Linked DNA regions of Homo sapiens: region 2 is linked to region 1. The links are contacts of gene promoters, found by promoter capture Hi-C in human tissues and cell types (Jung and others, 2019). All regions are on one chromosome and are shown on one strand. The core of a region is centred on a gene start or on the middle of the fragment in contact, and the rest is flanking DNA. Distances in the headings are between cores, read along the strand shown.

Region 1 (5,596 bases), core at 775-3,274:
ATACCAAGTTCTGTTTTAGCACAAGAAAGAAAAAAAAAGAAAATACTAGTGAATAGGGCAAAAGAGGAAGTTCTTTTTAGTGAACCATCTGTCATGTATTACAGACAATTAGAAAAACATTCACTTTTCCACTAGGTTTATGTATGAATGTAGTTCCCCAGGTGTACTGAAGTCTGGATTTTGCAGTTTCCCTATGACAACATATCCTATGATTCAATTTTTATTTATTTATTTAGAGAAGGGATTTTGCTCTTGTTGCCCAGGCTGGAGTGCAATGGCCCGATCTAGGCTCACGGCAACCTCTGCCTCCCCAGTTCAAGAGATTCTCCGGCCTCAGCCTCCCGAGTAGCTGGGATTACAGGCATGCGCCACCACACCCGGCTAATTTTGTATTTCTAGTAGAGATGGGGTTTCTCCATGCTGGTCAGGCTGGTGTCGAACTCCTGACCTCGGTGATCCGCCCAGCTCGGCCTCCCAAAGTGCTGGGATTACAGGCATGAGCCACCGCGCCCGGCCTATGATCCACATTTTACACATCCATAAGAAGACAACAGTGGCTTGAAACATTAAACTATTCGTTTCATATCTTAAAGTTTGATTAACTTTTTAAAATCAATGCTAACTACGTAAGAATCATTTTTTAAAAATACTTAAGTTTCACAACAATGTGAATATACTACTGAGCTGTATGTACACTTAAAAATGGTTAGGATGGTAAATTTGATTTTTGTGTTTTTCACGACACAAAGTGTGTAAGTTAATGAGAATTTTTTCACTTAAATGTTAATAGTAGCTTGTCATATAAATTTTGATTAAAGGAAAAATCGCTTTACACTTAACTTTTAATAATTTGCTGTCATCTTTAAATTAATGTAATTAATTTTTAAAGATGCTTCCATACATGGGCAAATTCTTTAATCCTGAATTATAGAGTGAAAGTGAAGCACTATTTTCAATTAACATCTTTCAAATCATCTAAATTATTGCCAACAAATACTAGTTATGAAATTAGGTATATTTTATTTCTGTTGATTTCTTTATTCAATTAAGTGCAAATCTCGAATTAAGAGAGCAAGATCCCTAGTCTTTTCTTAAAGCAACTGTAGTTCTGGATTATGAGGTAGGTGACACCACACCTCAGCCTTTGGCAGGGCGGTGGCCCAAAATGCTGAAGTCAACCATGTCCAATCACCCTTCTGGTCTGGCTCAGCCCTATCAAAAATTGTCAGGCTTCTGTGAACTTTCATTAAGTCCCGTTCAGAAGACTGCACAACCCAGGTTACTTTAGCAGCTCGGGAAGGGCCTGGAGCAGCCGGGTTGGCTTGCTACCTCTGGGAAGTCTCCAGGAAGAGAAAACTGGGAAAAGGCTTTAACTTTGCGCAAGCCCCTTTTCTCTGTCAACATCTCTTTCCCTTCCCAGCGAAGGGATGTGTTCTCGAAAGATCTACCCCTTTCCAACTCAAATGTCATTCCCTGATCAGCTGCTGGAGGGGCAAGCGGCGCTCAACCCACGCCCTCCTCTTCGAGCACCTTCTCCAAGTGCCAGCGCGCCGGGCTCGCTCTGCAGCCCCCCACACCAGCCCTACAGGAAGAGGGGCCCTGGCTCACGACCCCGGCCCGCCTCTGCAAGGGGGCTCCCGGCCTGGGAGGCTGTGGCTGCCCGCGGGGGTCCACTCCCGGGTCGAGTGGGGGTGACCAGAGCCAGCGGGAGGGGTTTCTTGGGAGAGGGGAGAGACGGCCTCACCTTGACCCTGATTTCGTAAGTGGTGAAGCGGCCCCGGCCGACCCCCACCGTTTGCGGGTTGCTCACATCGATCTCGAGGAAGTTGCTGGGGGGTCCGTAGGCGTCATTCAGGTTCTGCGGCTTGGTGATCAGCCGCCGGGTGTCAGCCACGGTCTCCGCCATTTCGCTGTAGCTGCTGCCGCCGCCGCGGGCTCCCTCCGCCCCCTCCGCGTTCAGCCGCCGCCGCCGCCGCTGCTGCCCGCCGTGGGGACACGGGGCTCGCGCGCAGCGGTCGCGAAGAGAACGAGCACGTAGAGCGGGCGTTCACCCCGCACGCGAAGCTCCTCCCCGCGCCCCTCAAGCTTCCGCCTCCGAGCCCAGGGGAGAAACGGCTCACTAGCTGGAACGCCACGCCCGGCTCCCGGGAGGCCCGGCCGAGGCTGGGGAGGGGCACTGCGGACTGGGGTGTGAGGAGAAGCGGTGTCATGGGACTCGGGGTCGCAAACAGGTTCCGGCCGGACTACAGCGCCCACAATGCACCGCGAGCGCGCCGCCGCGGGGCTGCGGCCGAGGAGGCGAGGACCCAGACGCCCAGAGCTGGCGCTTCCTGTCTCTCTGCGCCAGCCTCGGCCTGCGGCGGGGTAGAGCGCCGGAAACGGCTTTAGCGGCTTTGGGAATTGCGGGCGAAAGTTAAACGGAGAGATCTTAGAGATTTGCCCGCAAATCGAAACAAAACTGCCCCTACTAACTCTGTGCCAACCTGTGCACCGTCTCACTGTGAACCCCTGAAAATGCCTTTCTGGAGAAGGTTAAGCAAATGCCTGAGATGATTTTGCCATAAACCCGAGCGTTGCACCAGACACGCGTCTGGATTGATAGGTTGAAACCAGTAAAGTGGGGGAGTGAAATAAAAACTAAAGCCCTAGTTAAATCCTAGCATTATGGTCAAATCGATTTTGGAGACAGGTCGGTCCGCTAAAACAAAGTAACAGTAGACCGGCTGCAAGCTGCTTTGGGTGTCCACTTTCGTTTCTCACGAAGTCCTGATAAGTTTTTTTTTTTTTTGAAAAGTATTAAACGTACCTCTACAGGACTGGAAATGCAACTCACATGAGCCTTTTTAAGAAACGGGGAGGAAGGCCGGGCACGGTGGCTTATGCCTGTAATCCCAGCACTTTGGGAGGCCGAGGCGGGCGGATCACGAGGTCAGGAGTTCGATACTAGCCTTGCCCACATGGTGAAACCCCATCTCTACTTAAAAATGCAAAATTAGCTGGGCGTGGTGGTGCGCGCCTGTAATCCCAGCTACTCTGGAGGCTGAGGCAGGAGAATCGCTTGAACCCGGGAGGCAGAGGTTGCAGTGAGCTGAGATCTGCCATTGCACTCCAGCCTGGGTAATAGAGTGAGACTTTGTCTCAAAAAAAAGAAAGAAAGAAACGGGGAGAAAACCCAATTAATTAGGTCCTAGTTCATCTCTTATGGTCCAATGGGAAATGCAGATTTTAAATGTTGAGATACGATACATTTCTATCTCTGCCCAGAGAGTTATCCCTCACAACTATTTCTGCATTTTTTAATATGTCAAGTTTAACACTATAATTACTTTAAATAACCTGATCTTCCCCGCCCCCCTTTTCTTTAGATTTTAAATTATTAGTAATTATTTGTGGAGACGGGATCTCACTGTGATTCCCAGGCTGGTCTCCAACTCCCAGCATCAAAGTGATCCTCCCGCCGTGGCCTCCCATATGTGCTGAGATGACAGGTATGAACCACCGTGCTTGGACTGATCTGTCCCTTGAACTGCAAATTTCTTTTCTTTCTTGCTTTTTTTTTTTTTTTTTTTTTTTTTTTTTTTTTGAGACGGAGTCTCGCTGTGTCGTTCAGGCTGGAGTGCAGTGGCGCATCTTGTCTTACTGCAATCTCCACCTTTCGGATTCAAGCGATTCTCCTGCCTCAGCCTCCCGAGTAGCTGGGATTACAGGCGTGCGCCATGACACCCAGCTAATTTTTGTGTATTTTCAGTAGAAACGGGGTTTTGCCTTATTGGCCGGGCTGGTCTCGAACTCCTAACCTCAGCTGATCCGCTCGCCTCAGCCTCCCAAAGTGCTGGGAGTACAGAAGTGAGCCACCGTGCCCGGCCAACAGCAACCATTCTTAATAACACTAAGAAACACTGGAATAAAAAGAAATTACTTGGCCGGGTGCGGTGGCTTGCGCCTGTAATCCCAGTACTCTGGGAGGCCGAGGCGGGCGGATCACCTCAGGTTGGGAGTTTGAGACCAGCCTGACCAACATGGAGAAACCCCGTCTGTACTAAAAATACAAAATTAGCCGAGCGTGATGGCGCATGCCTGTAATCCCAGCTACTCGGGAGGCTGAGGCAGGAGAATTGCTTGAACCTGGGAGGCGGAGATTGTGGTGAGCCGAGATCGTGCCATTGCACTCCAGCCTGGGCAACAAGAGCAAAACTCCATCTCAAAAAAAAAAAAAAAAAAAAAGGCATTACTTAAATACAATGTATATTATTTTCCAGAAAACAACATTCATTTATTAATTCAACAAATATTTGTTGAAGACCTACTAGATGTTTTCATTCTAAGTACTAGAAATGAAAGGGTAGATAAGTCAGGTTTATAGCCTAGTATATAGTCTGTCTTAGGGAGACAATTCAGTAAATAATACACCTGCCAATATAATTGGTGCTATGAGGCAAATAAAACTGAATAATGTGACAGATAGTGACAGACAAGCTCATTAGATATTAATGCTGGGCATGTCTCCTAATGCAACAGACCAAATGGGAATTTGACTGGTATGATTAGAAATGTAAGCTCAATAAATACATATCAATGACTCTGAATTGAAGTCTATGCAAGCTAAGAGACCAGGAACTACTGTATTATGTTGTCATCGGTGACACCTGAACAAAGCAATCATGGAATATTCTCATAGAATGCTTCTGTCTGATTCCTTGGCGACCACTCAGGGCAGCAGTGGGCAGCCAGAACAAATGCCTGCAGTGGGGAAGCGGCTAGGAGGGACAGCAGCACAGCATCATAGCACAGTTGTATAGCCAAAGAAGACCTTCTTGGTGTAAATATCAGGAAAAAAAATTATCCTTATTTTTCAGGAATTGTGATTGCATTTCTAGAATACAAATCCAGAAATAATAAGCTACTAGAATTAACAAGAGAATGTAGTGGCAAGACAGAAATAAAGAATGTAATAGCTTTCCTTTGTCTATGCAATATCTAGTTAGAATGGAAATGGAAGAAAATACCCTGTTTGCAAGTGACCAGAAGTACAAAATATCTAGGAAGGAAGGGATAGGAACTATAAGGAGCAAAGGGAACATAGGACTAAAACTATGAAATTGTATTCAAAGATGTAAGACAAAACCTAAAGAGAAAAGAGTCTATGTTCCTGGATGGGAGGACTTAATATCAGAAAAAGTCACTATCTAAAATTAATAACTTAATACAATTAGAATCTCAATGTGGTTAGTTTTACTCACCCACTCCCACCTTGGATGAGTGGGTGGCACTGAGTCAAGTTTTTTTTTTTTTTTTTTTTTGAGACAGAGTCTCACTCTGTCACCCAGGCTGGAGTGCAGTGGCACAATCTCGGCTCACTGCAACCTCTGCCTCCAGGGTTCAAGCTATTCTCCTGCCTCAGCCTCCCAAGTAGCTGGGACTACTGGCGCCTGCCACCACGCCCGGCTAATTTTTGTGTTTTTAGTAGAGACGGGGTTTCACCATGTTGGCCGGGCTGGTCTCGAATTCCTGACCTTGTGATCCGCCCACCTAGGCCCCCCCAAAGTGCTGGGATTACAGGGGTGAGCCACCGCACCTGGCCCAAAGGTTTTATCAT
Region 2 (5,596 bases), core at 1,479-3,978, 190 kb after region 1:
AAATAGTGATGTTGTTAAAATATATTTTTCCCATGAATTGCCATTAAGACAATTTTCATTTTGAATGCAAACAAAATGTCAGCCTATAGTTGTTTCTTGACTTGTCCTGAAATCCCTTAGTCACCATTCTTCTACTGAAGTGAATATCTCCCATCTATCTATCTATCTATCTATCTATCTATCTATCTATCTATCTATATCTGCACAGGCATACCTTAGAGATATCGAGGGTTTGGTTCTAGGCTACTGCAATACAACAGTATTGCAATAAAATGAGTTGCAGGAAGCTTTTGGTTTCTCAGTGCATATAAAGGTTATATTTATACTATACTATAGTCTATTAAGTGTGCAATGGTATTATGTCTAAAGAAAACCTTAATTAAAAAAATACTTTATTGCTAAAAATGCCAATAATCATCTGAACTTTCAGTGAGTGGTCATCTTTTTGCTGGTCTTGCCTCGATGTTGATGGCTGCTGACTAATCAGGATGGTGACTGCTAAAGGTTGGAGTGGCTGTGGCAGTTTCTTAAGATAATGTTGAAGGTTGCTATATAGATTGACTCTTCCTTTCACAAAAGGTATTTATGGCAGATATAGCCTTACAAAATGTATTTCTTAAATAATAATACTTACAAGTTGAAATTACTTCTTGATTCATGCATGGGCTGCAGAATGGATGTTATGTTAACAGGCAGGGAAACAACATTTATCTCCTTGTGCACTTCCATCAGAGCTCTTTGATGACCAAGTGGATTGTCATGAGCAGTAATCTTTTGAAAACAATCTTTCTTCTAAGCAGTAGCTCTGAACAGTAGGCTTAAAATATTTAGTAAACCATACTGTAAACAGATGTGCTGCCATCCAAGGGCTTTGTTATTTCATTTATAAAGCACAGGCAGAGTAGATGTAGCAAAATTCTTAAGGGCCTTGGGATTTTCAGATTGGTAAATGAACATTTGCTTCAACATCAAGTCATCAGTTGCATTAGCCTCTAACAAGAGAGTCAGCCTGTCCTTTGAAGCTTTGAAGCCATGCATTGACTTCTCCTTTCTAGCTATGAAAGTCCTAGTTGGCATCTTCTTCCAGCAGAAGGCTGTTTCATCTCCAGTGAAAATCTGTTGTTTAGTGTAGTCACCTTCATCAATGATCTTAACTAAGTCTTCTGGATAACTTGTTGCACCTTCTGCATCAGCACTTGCTGCTTTACCTTGCATTTTTATGTTATAGAGATGGCTTATTTATTGAAACCTCATGAACCAACCTCTGCTAGCTTCCATCTTTTCTTCTGCAGCTTCCTCACCTCTCTCAACCTTCATAGAATTGAAGGGAGTTAGGGCCTTTCTCTGGATTAGGCTTTGGCTTAAGAGAATGTTGTGGCTGTTTTGATCTTCTATCCAGATCACTCAAACTTTTCTCCATATCAATAATAAGGCTGTTTTGCTTTCTTGTGGTTCATGTGTTCACTGGAGTAGCACTTTTCATTTCCTTCAAGAACTTTTCCTTTTCAATCATAACTTAGCTAACTTTTTGTTGCAAGAGGCCTAGGTTTTTGTCTGTTGTGGCTTTTGTCATACCTTCCTCACTAAGCTTAATCATTTCTAGCTTTTGGTTGAGAGTGAGAGATGTGTGACTCTTCCTTTCACCTGAACACTTAGAGGTCATTGTAGGGCTATTAATCGACATAATTTCAATATTCTTGTTTCTCAGAGCATAGGGACACCTAAGGTGAGAGAGAGAGAGAGAGAGAGAGAGAGAGAGAGAGAGAGAGAGAGAGAAACAGCCAGTTGGTATAGCAGTCAGAATGCAAACAGCATGTATAAATTAAGTTCACCCTCTTCTATGGGTGCAGTTTGTGGTACCCTAAAACAATTACAGTAATAGCATCAAAGATCACTGATCACATAATATGTGATCACCGATCATATAATTAATGACATAATTTTTAAAAGTTTGAAATACTACAAGAATTACCAAAATGTGATACAGAGACACAAAGTGAGCACATGCTGTTGGAAAATTGAGGCCAATAGACTTGCTTCATGCAGGGTTGCCACAAACTTTCACTTTGTAAAAATTGCAATATTTGAGAAGCACAATAAAGGGAAACACAATAAAATGAAGTATGCCTCTCATCTATGTAGAGATACACACACACACACACACACACACACACACACACACACACACACACACACACCCCTACATATATTCCTCTCATTGCCCCCAAAATCCAACTGACCAAGAAGATAGGTGTTGCAAAAGTACATTTGCTCTCAAAGTAAGAATTTGGGATGTGTGTGGTGTATGTGCTTGTGTGCACATATGCACCCTGGGGGAATGGAAAGAAAGGAGCACTTGGGAGAAGAGAAGGGCATTAGTGGCACAGGGTGACTCGGGTTGAAAGGAGGCATCCACAGCAGGAAAGCGCACTGAAATGTTGGTGGCCAGAGAGGAAACTAAAAGGGAGACATGGGCAGTGGCAGCCATTTAGAAGCGAAGGATGGGCATACCTACGACATCATTCTAGTTTGGTCATTTGGTTTAAAATGTGGACACTAATGTTCTGGCCCAACTCTCTCTCTCTCTTTTTTTTTTTTTTTTTTTTTGTGTGTGTGTGAGACAAGGTCTTGCTCTGTTGCCCAGGCTGAAGTGCAGTGGCACGATCATAGCTCATTGCAACCTCCACCTCCCAGGCTCAAGCAATGCTCGCAGCTTAGCCGGCCAAATAGCTGAGACTACAGGCGTGTGCCACCACGCCCAGCTAATTTTTGTATTTTTTGTAGAGATGGGTTTTGCTATGTTGCTCAGGCTGGTCTCAAACTCCTGGACAAACACAATCTGCCTGTCTCAGCCTCCCAAAGTGCTGGAATTACAGGCGTGAACCACCATTGTCCACTCCCAGCTCTCTTATGCTGCCTCTGCCCTCCTGTGGTGCTTAAGACCCATGAGTTATTCTTTCTGGTAGCCTCTAGTTTCTCACTCCAGGGTATTAGAAATTGGGCTATTTTAAAAAAAACCCAGATGAAGTTATTTGGGGAATTTGCTGACAGCACTTTTTAGGCAATGTTTCAGAAAACATGATGCAAATTTTAATTTTTTTAAACTGATATTTCAGTGGCTTGATATATTTAATATTGCAACTTTAGTTTTATGAATCTTGCATGAGTTCTGTTGTTTTCTTGTCATCTCATTATATTAGTTTTTGAGCAAACATTTGAAAAATTTTAAAAATGTATAGTATAAGGGAAGGATTGTAATTCTGAGCCACTACTTGTTTAAAAAGGCACTTCATTTGTTTGGATTGTAGGAATATTGTAATACAGTCCAGCTAGATTCTGGGATAGATTACCGGAAAAGGGAACTTCCTGCTGCAGGAAAACTCTACTACCTGTAAGTGTTTCTAATTTTTAAAGTTTAATGTCTAATCGTTAATCAGAAAAAGAACATAAAAATAAGCAGTTTAATTATTGGAACGTGAAAGGCTGGTTCTGAAGCCCATGATTTTTAAATTGCAAATGTTCTCATGTTAACTTCTTCAACCCGTGTCTTTACCATCCATATTTGCATCATTTATAATGTGTGATTGGACAAAACCCTAATTAGTTTTTTGGGGTGGAATGATGACAGATGGTTAGAATGTAATGAGTATCCTTTTATAAGAGACTCTATTATTACGAGAATATCTTTAATGTGTGAAGTAATTAATTATTTGTGGATATCATCTGACAAGTGTGCCATTTCCGTTCCCCCCAAAATTGTTGTTTTATTTGTCAATCTGTTTGTATTTATCATTGTTGATTGACTTCCATATATAACTGATCTACAATATATATACACAAATACAACTGGATATATTTTTGTCTTTTAAAAGCTAAGATGCTCCTGAGTAGGAGCGATTTATAATAATAGGTGTATTCAGCACGTGCAGTTAATACTGAAAAACAAATATAGTTTGTTTTAAAATGTCCTTTGTGAGAACGTGAAAAGGAAAAAGTGCTTTAAAAAAGCAAACTTGTTTAGTATATGCCAACAGTGTTGGGCACATAGCAAATTCTCAGTAAATAGATCTGTCTAAGGACTAATTGTAATTTAACTAAAAGGCATGTTTCTGGTAATTTAAATTTTGATGACAACGTGCATTTGAGAGGTTGAGAAAAGTTCTTGTCTCTGCCACCTTGTAAGCAGAAGTACTTTACTGTTTTTGAAGCAGAAATTAGCTAGAAAAATCACATAATTAAAATTGCATACTTTACAGTGTACCAAGGGGACTATTTTAGTTTATTATTCAGATCCTGATGATTATTATAGGAGATTCTTCATTTGTCCTCAAGTACTTTGTCTTTAAAGTACTTTATAATTTTAAAAAATTCATAGAGCACATTTTTCTGCTTTAACTTGGACTTTTTCTTCCCAGTTTCTTTTATGTTTGTGTTTACTGGATATTTTATTTTTCTAATATTCACAGCCTTTCCCTGATTTTTTGCTACCTGTGTCTTGATATTCCAGATGTATGGTACCAATGCATTAATTAATTATTATTCTCTTTATTCTTTTTTTAAAGGAGGTAATTCTTGTTCTCTGTTTTTTTTCAAAAAGTGTATCCTCATGTGGAAAAATAAAAATATTTTCCTGATGGGGAGTTCCTTAAATAAAGATGGTAGTCTGAGTCTAAATTATAAAATTTGTTTCATAGTGCCAAAGAGGTCTTGGAAGTTACTGGAGGTGAAAAGGCTACTTTTGCTTGGAGCGTAGCCATTTTTTGTCTCTGACTTACCCTGTGTTACCCCTTCCTTTTCCTGATAAAAGTAATAGCATTCTAACCCAGTGAAGTTCAGTTTTGATCTTTAAAAATATGCTAGAGGAAAACCAACACTAACAATGTCCAGAGTCCAGGAAACCAGACCTACAAAGGACACCAGGAAACTCTGGACCAGCTTTCCTGAGAAGTATATAAATTCAAAGGCCAGGCACAATGGCTCATGCCTATAATCCAGGCACTTTGGGAGGCTGAGGTTGGAGGATCACTTGAGCCCAGGAGTTTGAAACCAGCTGGGCAACATAGGGAGACCCTGTCTCTACAAAAAATTTAAAAAATAGTGGGTGTGGTGGCACCTGCCTGTAGTCCCAGCTACTTGGGAGGCTGAGATGGGAGGATCGCTTGAGCCTAGGAGGTGGAGGCTGCAGTAAGCTGTGATCATACCACTGTACTTCAGCCTGGGCGACAGAGCAAGACCCTGTTTCAAAAAAAAAAAGTATATATATATATATATAAGTGTATACATATACACTTACATATATACACACATATATATACACAGACATATAGATATATATAGATAGATAGATGTCTATCTATTATCTATCTATCTATCTATTCATTTAATCCTCAAGGAAGATAAATTTGTTCCTGAATTTAACATCCAAAGGGCTTGACCATAGTCAAGAATAGAAAGCCTGGGGGCACCCCTCAGTCAGAGGAGAAGGCAGATATGTAAGTATCCCTGAAGAGAATTAGCAATTAAAATCATCTCAGAAGTGGGAAAATAATATGAGTTACTAAGACAGGATGCTAGAGATGTGTATTATATTGTTTCA

The links. The method cuts DNA at HindIII sites, captures the fragments that hold promoters and counts their contacts. A contact is called where the count stands out against the background at its distance.
Region 2: a contact is called between a fragment that was not itself captured here and the fragment with the promoter of SNX3 in region 1, in 1 of the 25 tissues and cell types used here (H1 embryonic stem cells).

What each region holds. Positions count from the first base shown.
Region 1 is chr6:108,259,016-108,264,611 of GRCh38, forward strand. It overlaps SNX3 (sorting nexin 3), which reads right to left and starts at 2,025. Exons shown (of 4, transcript NM_003795.6): 1 at 1,745-2,025. The coding sequence starts at 1,906. RefSeq lists silencers at 1,603-1,712, 1,823-2,082 and an enhancer at 2,210-3,045. The HindIII fragment of the contact is 13,682 bases long and covers 1-5,596 here.
Region 2 is chr6:108,443,906-108,449,501 of GRCh38, forward strand. It overlaps AFG1L (AFG1 like ATPase), which reads left to right. Exons shown (of 13, transcript NM_145315.5): 8 at 3,309-3,391. Among named protein-coding and RNA genes, the nearest start is that of FOXO3, 110 kb to the right of the region's middle. The HindIII fragment of the contact is 5,786 bases long and covers 1-5,596 here.